Regions from separate parts of the Homo sapiens genome. Here regions 1, 2 and 3 are each linked to region 4. The links are contacts of gene promoters, found by promoter capture Hi-C in blood cells and fetal thymus (Javierre and others, 2016). All regions are on one chromosome and are shown on one strand. The core of a region is centred on a gene start or on the middle of the fragment in contact, and the rest is flanking DNA. Distances in the headings are between cores, read along the strand shown.

What was found. Contacts are between HindIII fragments. The CHiCAGO score rates a contact against its expected background, and 5 or more counts as called.
Region 1: a fragment that was not itself captured here is called in contact with the fragment with the promoter of IFIT1B in region 4 in 1 of 17 cell types (M0 macrophages); the score reaches 6.0 in M0 macrophages.
Region 2: a contact is called between a fragment that was not itself captured here and the fragment with the promoter of IFIT1B in region 4, in 1 of 17 cell types (megakaryocytes). The highest score is 5.1, in megakaryocytes.
Region 3: a contact is called between a fragment that was not itself captured here and the fragment with the promoter of IFIT1B in region 4, in 1 of 17 cell types (M0 macrophages). The highest score is 6.0, in M0 macrophages.

What each region holds. Positions count from the first base shown.
Region 1 is chr10:89,014,449-89,017,148 of GRCh38, forward strand. FAS (Fas cell surface death receptor) reads left to right here. Exons shown (of 9, transcript NM_000043.6): 9 at 1-2,611. The coding sequence ends at 2. Among named protein-coding and RNA genes, the nearest start is that of FAS-AS1, 23 kb to the left of the region's middle. The HindIII fragment of the contact is 2,711 bases long and covers 1-2,700 here.
Region 2 is chr10:89,707,084-89,709,783 of GRCh38, forward strand. It overlaps KIF20B (kinesin family member 20B), which reads left to right. Exons shown (of 33, transcript NM_001284259.2): 3 at 2,084-2,170; 4 at 2,262-2,378. Among named protein-coding and RNA genes, the nearest start is that of KIF20B, 6.8 kb to the left of the region's middle. The HindIII fragment of the contact is 5,889 bases long and covers 1-2,700 here.
Region 3 is chr10:88,996,292-88,998,991 of GRCh38, forward strand. All of the region lies in intron 1 of FAS (Fas cell surface death receptor), which reads left to right. Among named protein-coding and RNA genes, the nearest start is that of FAS-AS1, 4.7 kb to the left of the region's middle. The HindIII fragment of the contact is 1,313 bases long and covers 714-2,026 here.
Region 4 is chr10:89,376,803-89,379,502 of GRCh38, forward strand. IFIT1B (interferon induced protein with tetratricopeptide repeats 1B) reads left to right here and starts at 1,254. Exons shown (of 2, transcript NM_001010987.2): 1 at 1,254-1,338. The coding sequence starts at 1,334. It also overlaps a transcript of LIPA not described here. The HindIII fragment of the contact is 6,433 bases long and covers 1-2,700 here.

The DNA.
Region 1 (2,700 bases), core at 96-2,595, 360 kb before region 4:
AGAGTGAAAAACAACAAATTCAGTTCTGAGTATATGCAATTAGTGTTTGAAAAGATTCTTAATAGCTGGCTGTAAATACTGCTTGGTTTTTTACTGGGTACATTTTATCATTTATTAGCGCTGAAGAGCCAACATATTTGTAGATTTTTAATATCTCATGATTCTGCCTCCAAGGATGTTTAAAATCTAGTTGGGAAAACAAACTTCATCAAGAGTAAATGCAGTGGCATGCTAAGTACCCAAATAGGAGTGTATGCAGAGGATGAAAGATTAAGATTATGCTCTGGCATCTAACATATGATTCTGTAGTATGAATGTAATCAGTGTATGTTAGTACAAATGTCTATCCACAGGCTAACCCCACTCTATGAATCAATAGAAGAAGCTATGACCTTTTGCTGAAATATCAGTTACTGAACAGGCAGGCCACTTTGCCTCTAAATTACCTCTGATAATTCTAGAGATTTTACCATATTTCTAAACTTTGTTTATAACTCTGAGAAGATCATATTTATGTAAAGTATATGTATTTGAGTGCAGAATTTAAATAAGGCTCTACCTCAAAGACCTTTGCACAGTTTATTGGTGTCATATTATACAATATTTCAATTGTGAATTCACATAGAAAACATTAAATTATAATGTTTGACTATTATATATGTGTATGCATTTTACTGGCTCAAAACTACCTACTTCTTTCTCAGGCATCAAAAGCATTTTGAGCAGGAGAGTATTACTAGAGCTTTGCCACCTCTCCATTTTTGCCTTGGTGCTCATCTTAATGGCCTAATGCACCCCCAAACATGGAAATATCACCAAAAAATACTTAATAGTCCACCAAAAGGCAAGACTGCCCTTAGAAATTCTAGCCTGGTTTGGAGATACTAACTGCTCTCAGAGAAAGTAGCTTTGTGACATGTCATGAACCCATGTTTGCAATCAAAGATGATAAAATAGATTCTTATTTTTCCCCCACCCCCGAAAATGTTCAATAATGTCCCATGTAAAACCTGCTACAAATGGCAGCTTATACATAGCAATGGTAAAATCATCATCTGGATTTAGGAATTGCTCTTGTCATACCCCCAAGTTTCTAAGATTTAAGATTCTCCTTACTACTATCCTACGTTTAAATATCTTTGAAAGTTTGTATTAAATGTGAATTTTAAGAAATAATATTTATATTTCTGTAAATGTAAACTGTGAAGATAGTTATAAACTGAAGCAGATACCTGGAACCACCTAAAGAACTTCCATTTATGGAGGATTTTTTTGCCCCTTGTGTTTGGAATTATAAAATATAGGTAAAAGTACGTAATTAAATAATGTTTTTGGTATTTCTGGTTTTCTCTTTTTTGGTAGGGGCTTGCTTTTTGGTTTTGTCTTCCTTTTCTCTAACTGATGCTAAATATAACTTGTCTTTAATGCTTCTTGGATCCCTTAGAAGGTACTTCCTTTTTAACCTTAACCCTTTTAGTAGTTAAATAATTATTTCCATAGGTTGCTATTGCCAAGAAGACCTCTTCCAAACAGCACATGATTATTCGTCAAACAGTTTCGTATTCCAGATACTGGAATGTGGATAAGAAAGTATACATTTCAAGGGGTAGGTTTTATTATTAAGAAAGCCAAATGAGGATTTTGAAATATTCTTTCCTGCATATTATCCATTCTAGCTACATGCTGGCCAGTGGGCCACCTTTCTTTTCTGCAATTTAATGCTAGTAATATATTCTATTTAACCCATGAGTCCCAAAGTATTAGCATTTCAACATGTAAGCATGTCGGTAAGATAGTTGTGCTTTGCTTAGGGTTCCCTCCTGTGTTATGGTCTGGAAAGTGTCTTTAGGCAGAAAGTCTGAGTGATCACAGGGTTCACTCATTAATTTCTCTTTTCTGAGCCATCATAGTCTGTGCTGTCTGCTCTCCAGTTTTCTATTTCTAGACAGAAGTAGGGCAAGTTAGGTACTAGTTATTCTTCATGGCCAGAAGTGCAAGTTCTACTTTGCAAGACAAGATTAAGTTAGAGAACACCCTATTCCACTTTGGTGAACTCAGAGCAAGAACTTTGAGTTCCTTTGGGAGGAAGACAGTGGAGAAGTCTTTGTACTTGGTGATGTGGTTTTTTTCCTCATGGCTTCACCTAGTGGCCCCAAGCATGACTTCTCCCATGTCAATGAGCACAGCCACATTCCCGAGTTGAGGTGACCCCACGGTCCAGAATCATCCTCATTCTGGTGAACCTGGTTCTCTTTGTGGTGGGCATACTGGGTAGGAGAATCACCCAAAGGTCACCCATGAGCTGCAGAAAAAAAGGCTATTTGCAGAAGGAGCTCACAGATCACATTGAAAGCATTGCATATTCAAACATCTTGGTCTTCTTTATTGGCATGCCCACAGGGTCTTCTGACCTCTGATTAGATCAGACACTTTTTAGATATTGAATCATCAGTTTCTGTACAACTATCTGAATAAGGTATATAATCAATGAAATTTAGAATTTTTTTCTATGCTTACTCCTGATTGGTAATTTGTTTGGGTTTAGAATTCTATACAAGGCCATTTGTAATTTTCCTCAGCACTTTAAAAATATTAAACCATGTTTTCTTAACATCTGTTGCTGTTGATTATGTCTGCTCTTGGTGTAAATATCATTCCTTTGTAGGTAATCTGTAATTTTTTTTCCTCTGGTAATTTTTA
Region 2 (2,700 bases), core at 6-2,505, 330 kb after region 4:
ACTTGTCAATGTAGAGGCCTTTCGTGTCTTTTGTCAAATATATTTATAAACATTTTATGTTATTTGATGCTATTGTAAATATTTTTAGTTGCTTTATTTAGGCATAATGAAACACTGCATATATTTTAGATACGCAGTTTGATAAGTTTTGACATGTGCATACACTTATGTAACTGTCACTACAGTCAAGATAGTGAGTATAACCATTACCCTCAAAAGTTTCCTTGAGGCTCCTTGTAAGTGCTCCCTCCCATCACACCTCCAAGTAACCTCTGATTAGCATTTTGTTAGTATACATTAATTTTTTGTAGATTTGTTGGATTTTGTATGCGTATGTTCATGTTGTTTCTAAATAAAGAAAATTTTATTTCTTCCTTCCCAATTTGGATGACTTTTGTCTTTTCATTTCCTTTTTTTCTTTCCATTTTTTTTTTCCTTTTCTTTCCCCTCCTCTCCCCTCCACTTCTTTCTTTCCCTTCTTCCCTTCCCTTTTACCTTTCTTTTTCCTTTCCTTTTCTCTTCCCTTTTTCTTTCCCTTACCCCTCCTTTTTTCTTCCCCCATCCCCTTTCCCCCTTCACACCCAATTACACCAGCTAGAACCTTTAATACAATGTTACTAGAAGTGGGGAAGCAGAAATCCTCTTCTTATTACTCATTTTGCTGCTCATCTTAGATTGAGTCTTTCCTGTTAAGTTTGTTGTTAGCGATAGATTTTTTGTAAGTGCCCTTTATCAGGATGAGGAAGTTTGCATTCATTACACTTTGCTGAGAATTTTTATTACAGATGGACGTTGGATTTTGTCAAATGCTGTTTTCCCATCTGTAGAGATAAAAGTTTCTCTTCATTTATTCTTTTAATATGGTTAATTGCCTGGATTGATTTTTGAATGCTAAACAGACTTTATATTCCTAGAATAAACCATTCTTGGTCAGATGTATTATCCTGTTTTATATATTGGCTAGTATTTTGTGTGGGAAATTTTGCGTATATCTTAATGTGGTATTTTGTTTTCTAATTTTTTCCTGAGGATATCTTTGTCAATTGTGTTATTCGGCTTATGTCAAACTCAAAATTAGTTAAGGTATTTTCTCTTCCTATATTTTCTTAAAGAGTTTATGTACAATTTGTATTTTTTTTTTTTTTGAGACGGAGTTCTGCTCTTGTTGCCCAGGCTGGAGTGCAATGGCGCCATCTTGGCTCACCGCAATCTCTGCCTCCCAGGTTCAAGCGATTCTCCTGCCTTAGCCTCCCAAGTAGCTGGGATTACAGGCATGCACCACCATGCCTGGCTAATTTTGTATTTTTAGTTGAGATGGGGTTTCTCCATGTTGGTCAGGCTGGTCTCGAACTCCCGACCTCAGGTGATCCACCCGCCTCGGCCTCCCAAAGTGTTGGGATTACAGGCATGAGCCACCGCTCCTGGCCTGATCATTTTCTTAAATGTTTGATAGAATTTACTGTTAAACTACTAGGGCCTGAATTTTTTTTTTTGTGGCATTATTTTGTTTGAAAATGGATTCAGTTTGCTTCATAGAAATTGGGTTATTCAGATTTTCTAGTTATGTCTGTTTTGATTAAGTTGCATTTATCAAGTTGTTTCCTTTTTACTTTTTTAAAAAAACATTAAAACATTTCTTTAAAATTACATTTTCTATGCACATTTCTTCCTCAGAAAAAGTAACAAGGAGAATGGTACATAGTAAAAAAATTCTGAATACCTCATGGAATTGAGCATTTGAATAATAGAATATTCTAGTTACTTTTGATTTATTCTAGAGTTATATTTTCCAATGACTTAGGGCCTCATTAATTATATTAGGCTTTTGTGGAATAAAGCCTTTTTATAAACTTCACGTATAAATACAGGAGATGGAGGAAATTGGATCTTTTTTGGTGTATTTTGTTTTTATTTAAATAGATTTATTGAGTTTTTCTAACATTATTAAAAGCAGGATAGTGACTGCTTAGAAATTCTTTATCATCTCAGATTATTATGTAAAAAGTAGCCATGTTAAGGAAAAATGGTCTCTGAAAAGCCGTATCTTTCAAAAACACAATGTTTTTCTCCTTTATTTTTTAAGGCAAACAGTTTCGAATCTAAAGATTATCTCCAGGTTTGTCTTCGAATAAGACCATTTACACAGTCAGAAAAAGAACTTGAGTCTGAGGTTTGTGTTGAATTTAATAGAATTTTAATATTTTACTTTCATTTAAAATGGCAAAATACTAGTTTTTATTTATTGGGGGTATGTTTTCTAGGGCTGTGTGCATATTCTGGATTCACAGACTGTTGTGCTGAAAGAGCCTCAATGCATCCTTGGTCGGTTAAGTGAAAAAAGCTCAGGGCAGATGGCACAGAAATTCAGTTTTTCCAAGGTAAAACTGAAGTGTTTTTGTTTTTTGTTTTAAAGATAAAGAGACTTGGCTTAGGCTAAATTGCTATATAATTGTATATAATGAACTATACATTTTATGCTTATGCAACTTAGATTTTAAGGATAAGACTCAAATCTCAGGTCTGGAAATATATAATTGGATGTAAAGAGATCACTGTAGTGTTATTAAAGTTATTATTACTATATTTTTATTAAAGTTATTATTAATATATTTTTAAGAAATATTCTTTTCAAAACTTAGGTGAATACTTGATTCCCTGGTACAGATTTCTATCTTGAAAACTTTCTGGTAGTAAAACTAT
Region 3 (2,700 bases), core at 120-2,619, 380 kb before region 4:
AATGTCTGTAAGGTTTCAGGCTTGATTTTAAAAATTGGGCCTATACTCACAGAAAGACAAATACTGCATGATCTCGTTTATATGTGGAATCTAAAAGTTTTGAATCCATAAAAGTAGAGAGTAGAATAGTGGTTACCAGAGGCTAGTTGGGGGCAAAGTTGGGGGATTTAGGGAGATATTGGTCAAAGGATACAAAATTTCAGTTAGGAGGAATAAGTTCAAGAGATCTAGTGTACAACTTGATGTCTATAGCTAATAACAATGTATTGTATACTTGAAAATTACTAAGAGTAGATTTTAAGTGTTCTCGCCACACACACACAAAAGAAAATGATAAGTATGTGAAGGAATGCCCAATGTAATTAGCTCGATTTAGCTAATTATCTTCCAAAATATGTACATAATTATCTTCCAAAATATGTACATAATTCAAGACATCATGTTATATACCATAAATATATATAATTTTTTTATTTGTCGAATAAAAATAATACAAAAAAACCCTGGGCCTATACTGCCCACAGGTAGTGGCCACAGGCAGAGCTGGTCCCAAGCCCCTCCCTCTCTCTGTAGTCCCTTATCCCAGGTTGCTTTATTCTTGTATGACCCACGTGGCCCCTCTGGGCTTGTAAGGGCTCTGGGGCTGTATTTTAGGACTCTATAGCCCTTACATTACCCATTTCCTCTACCAAAGGTCATTTCTCTTATCTTCAAGCTTATTTTTGGAAGGGTCATTATTTCTTCATGAGAAGTCAAATTCTGATTTGCAAGTGCTGAACACAGATGCCATTAGTCTATAAAACTCTTATATTCTCACATGTAAATGTAGTAACCTGCTAACCTCAGATTCTGCTTCCTCTAACCTAGTTGCCCTGCAACTGTGATGAACCTCAAAATCACCAAGGGTACTTCCCCATTCTCAGAGATCCTGATTCCTTAGGTCTATGTAGGGGCCTTAGCACTTTTTATTAAATAATGCATCACTACAGGATTCTGATGTCTGTCGGGGTCTTGAGAACTATTTTTCTGACTCTAGCACTAAACTCAAAATGTAATTTCAGATGGAATTTCCTAGGCTCATTCATTTTATTTTATTTATGGCTTGGCCAGTCATGGATCTAATCAGTAACTTGCAACTGTTGCTTCAACTACCTCTGTCCTGGACTTTCCAGAGATTGGCTTTAAGAAAGAAAGAGGACATCCCTGGGATAAGATTACCATGTGTATTTTTATGTACAGATTTTGAAAAACATACAAATGAATGGGATCTTTGCTTATCTCTTCCATGTAGAAAAATTTATTTTACTTCTATTTCAGGTTTTCAATAATGTAGTAGGACAAGATGACATCACTATATCCCTGTTTTTTACACAGATATATTAGAGATGCATTATCTTATTGGAAATTTTAAACTATTCAATAATAAACTATTAGTCTTTTAGAATTTCTTTTTCCTCAAGTGTTGATAAGTAACTGAAAGTCTACAAGCAGACAAGCAGAATTAGTCGGTGGAACTTCATTTCTTGCTCCATTTTTGTCCTCAGCAGTAGAGGGTGGTGAGATTTCAACCCAGCCTAGCAGGACCAATAAGTCTGGAAAGAAGTAGCTCTAGTTCATATTGGCACCTGCTAATTCTAGTTCTGAAGACCATGGGAAATCTCTTGCCTATTTAGCTCAGTGATCATCCAAGATGGGAAATTCTTGGGCTCAGCTGTGAGGGATCCCAAGTTTATATGTAACACTAATGTCTCACAAATCAAGAATCCAAGAGAATCAAGAGACTATAGTTCATTCCTTATATTAAATTCTTAGGACTGCCAACTGGGTGGCTACAGTTTTGGGGGCTAGAAGTCTGATATCAAGGTGCCAACTGGACTGGTTCCTTCTGAGGACCACGAGGGCAGGATCTGTTCAGGCTTGTAGATGGCCTTCTTTTCCATGTGTCTTCACATTATCTTCCTCTGTTTGTATGTGTGTCCAAATTTCCTCTTCTTTTTTTTTAATTTAGAAATTTATACTGTCTACAAGCTTTATATAGCTTTAGTTAAAAAAAAGCAAAAAAAAAAAAAAATCAAAACAAAAACAGTGAAGCCAAGACACTCTTCCAAAGTCTGGACCCTTCCGGCCTTCCAAATACAAGAGCTCTGGAAGTTGTATATACCAAATTTCCTCTTCTTAAAATGTCACCAGTCACATTGGATTAAGGCTTACCCTATTAACACCATTTTAACTTAATCACCTCTGTAAAGACCCTATCTCCTGATACAGTCACATTCGGATGCTCAGGAAGTTAGGGTATCAGTATCACTATATGAATTTGGGAGTTGGGGGAGGACACAGTTTAGCCCATGACAGTCCTGAATCTCCTTTGCTAGATGCATGACTGTGGGCCAGTCACTTCACCAGTTGGGATACTGCCATCTCTATCAGAAAAGGGGTTTGGGCTAGGTCATCTATAAAGTCCTTTCTGCTCTAAATTGTAAATATAATGAGATACCAACATTTAGTTTAATTGTTTAAAATTTTAGAAGCTAACTGGATGCTTTGCTGGTGTCAACACTCCCCTTTACAAAAAAAAATTCGGCCGGGCATGGTGGCTCACGCCTGTAATCCCAACACTTTGGGAGGCCGAGGCAGGCGGATCACGGGGTCGAGAGATTGAGACCATCTGGCCAACATGGTGAAACCCCGTCTCTACTA
Region 4 (2,700 bases), core at 4-2,503:
CTGCTTCCTGACAGCCTCCCATCCCATGCCCATGACCACACCTTACCACATGGGAGCCTGGGAAATATAGTCTAGTTACAGGCCCAGGACAAAGAAGAAATAGCACAGCGAGGCTACAGTTTCATTTGGTAATTATGAGAAGACTGTAATGAAGTTAATAACCCTACCTTGAAATGCTCACTCAGAGGGAAATCGCTCTCAGTCTTTGCCCTTTTGCTTATCTTGGTGCACTACCCCTACAAAACCAAGATCCAGAAACGTACAGGATGACATTGTAACAATTCACAAGAGGAATTCAGAATAGCAGCTTTCCAAATTTTCCTTTTTCTCTGCTAATTGTGTGGGCAATTACATCAGCCTTGGGATCATATAAATTTTTCATTAAACATGTGAACATTGTTTGATTGACTCTCTGATGGTTGTTGCTTTGTAACAGATAATCTTCAAAATAGTAGAAACAGAAGAAACATAAGGACAACTCAGAAGAACTATGTGAATTTGGATTTAGATTTTTAACCCCCATGACCCCATCACATTCTCTGACTACATTGCATATGTTTCTCTACTGACCAGCTCAAACATTGTTGTTTGAACCACTAATGGTGAACAGTAAAGATCATCAAAACAGTCAATATGCTTGAATAGGCTCCACTATAGCCAGGGTTGGCAGTAATGCAAATGCTGCTGGAGGATGTAACCAGTATGGGACCCTTCTTATAGACCAATATCTCAAAATTGAGGAGTTGTTTTGCCTAACACAGCCCCACAGAAGAAGACCTAACCATCTGCAACCTCATTCTTCCACAAATTGACAATGACTTTCTACAGTATTCTTTTAGGCACAAACCACTGACCCTGGTCTAAGGAGCTTCCATTGTAGACGTCCCTGGAACCACCTGGCGGGATACATGTGATAGTAACAAGTTTGACAACAGAGTCTGACATGATTCACAAAAATATACGTTCCTGTCTGCCACTGGTTTTTCCACAACACTGAATGTCATCATAAAGTCCAGTTACCCTCTATCTCCTACACCACATTGACTCCAGCAAGGGAATTTGCGTATCAAAACTGCTTCTCACACACCCATCCTCTTAGCTGCCAAAACTCAGCATGTATTTGTAATCAAAGCAGAGACAGCCCTATTCCTCTGTATCATTTTCACCCTGCCAATTCACTAGGCATCAAGGGTGTAAAAAACTGCCTGGATATACCTCCCATATATAAGCACCATGCTTATCTGAGAAGCCCTAGAACTCTGTGGATGAACCTTGAAGGAGCCTCCAAGCCTGAACCAAAGCACTACAGATCACCTGCTATCTTCATAGCACCATGAGGTAAAGTCTTTCTCTGCTTCACTGACCTTATTTCTGCACACTTTGAAATTCTAAAACTTTCCTTAAGGGCCAATTTTTTGACAGGCCTTCTCCTAAGGGAGCTGTCCCACTGGTGGTTCTGACCCTGATAGGCACCCTCAACATGATAACCAAGAAGAGTTTAATAAGGGGGCTATTTAAGACGATATGGGCAAAGTTTAGGGAAATCAACAGGAAATGGTGCTTGTTGGTTGCAGGGCAGCGGGAAGAGGCGTGTTGGTTTACAACAGTGGTAACATGATAACCCTGGGCCTACAGGAGCAAGAGGAGAGAACCAGACCCAAGGAGACTCTAAGCTATAGCTGTAGGGGAGGGGCTTCTCAAGAGGCCTTTGGTGAAAAAATCACTGACAACCTCAAGCAGAGCACAGTGGGAGCTTAGGAATTAATTCCATGACCTTCACCTCCTCCTGCAATTTAATATCTGGCTGGTGCTCCCCAGTGGGCCAACCCCAGTAGAAAGTAAAAAATAAAAGAGTTTTGGAGTTAATAAAGTCCATAGAGTCAGCTTCCAAGCACAGAGCATGGTGAAGAATGTAGGAAAGTAGATTCAGAGGGGCAAGATGAGAATATATGTAGAGGCAAGTTTCCTAACTCCTGTTACAGAGCTCGCTTAGTAAGGGTAGCTGGCTTAATAAAAGCAGCAATGCTCTTAAGGAAATAAACGAGAAAGCAATCTTATTTCCAAAGATGTCATTTCTGTAGCACTTTCTAATAGAGGGACAATTACCCAGGCAACACTTAAAGACTGTTCACCAGGGAACAGAGGCCTGAGCCTAGAGAGGAGACTGGCCCGGGGACCAGTCAGGGCAAGAGCATTGAGATCCTTTTAATATACAAAATACTCTTTTAGGCATCCAGGTGAGAAGAAGCAGCTATTTTTATTTGATAAATTGGTTAAATTCACGTGGGAAAAAGAAGCTACTTTCAGAGATGGCTGTTTTTCTGTTGTTTGTTTGTTTTTGATACCAAGTCAAATTTTGTGATTACTGTGAAACTATGAAATTGTGATTACTATGAAATTTGCTTTTCACTGAATTAACTGTTCTCAAAGTGTGGTCCCCTGACTAGCAACATCAGCATCACTTGGGAAGGTAGCAGAAATGCAAATTCTCAGGCCCTACCCTAAACCTGCTGACTCAGAAACTCTAGGGTGGGGCCCATCAATCTGTGTGTTATAAGTTTTCCAGGTGATCATGTTGCCTGCTAAAATTTGAAAAACCATTATACTAGATGTTAGAAAATAAGAAATTTTGTAGGCATTGTGATATGTTTGTTCCACAAAATATATATTTCTTTTTTTCCTGGTGTAGTTAGAACTGGT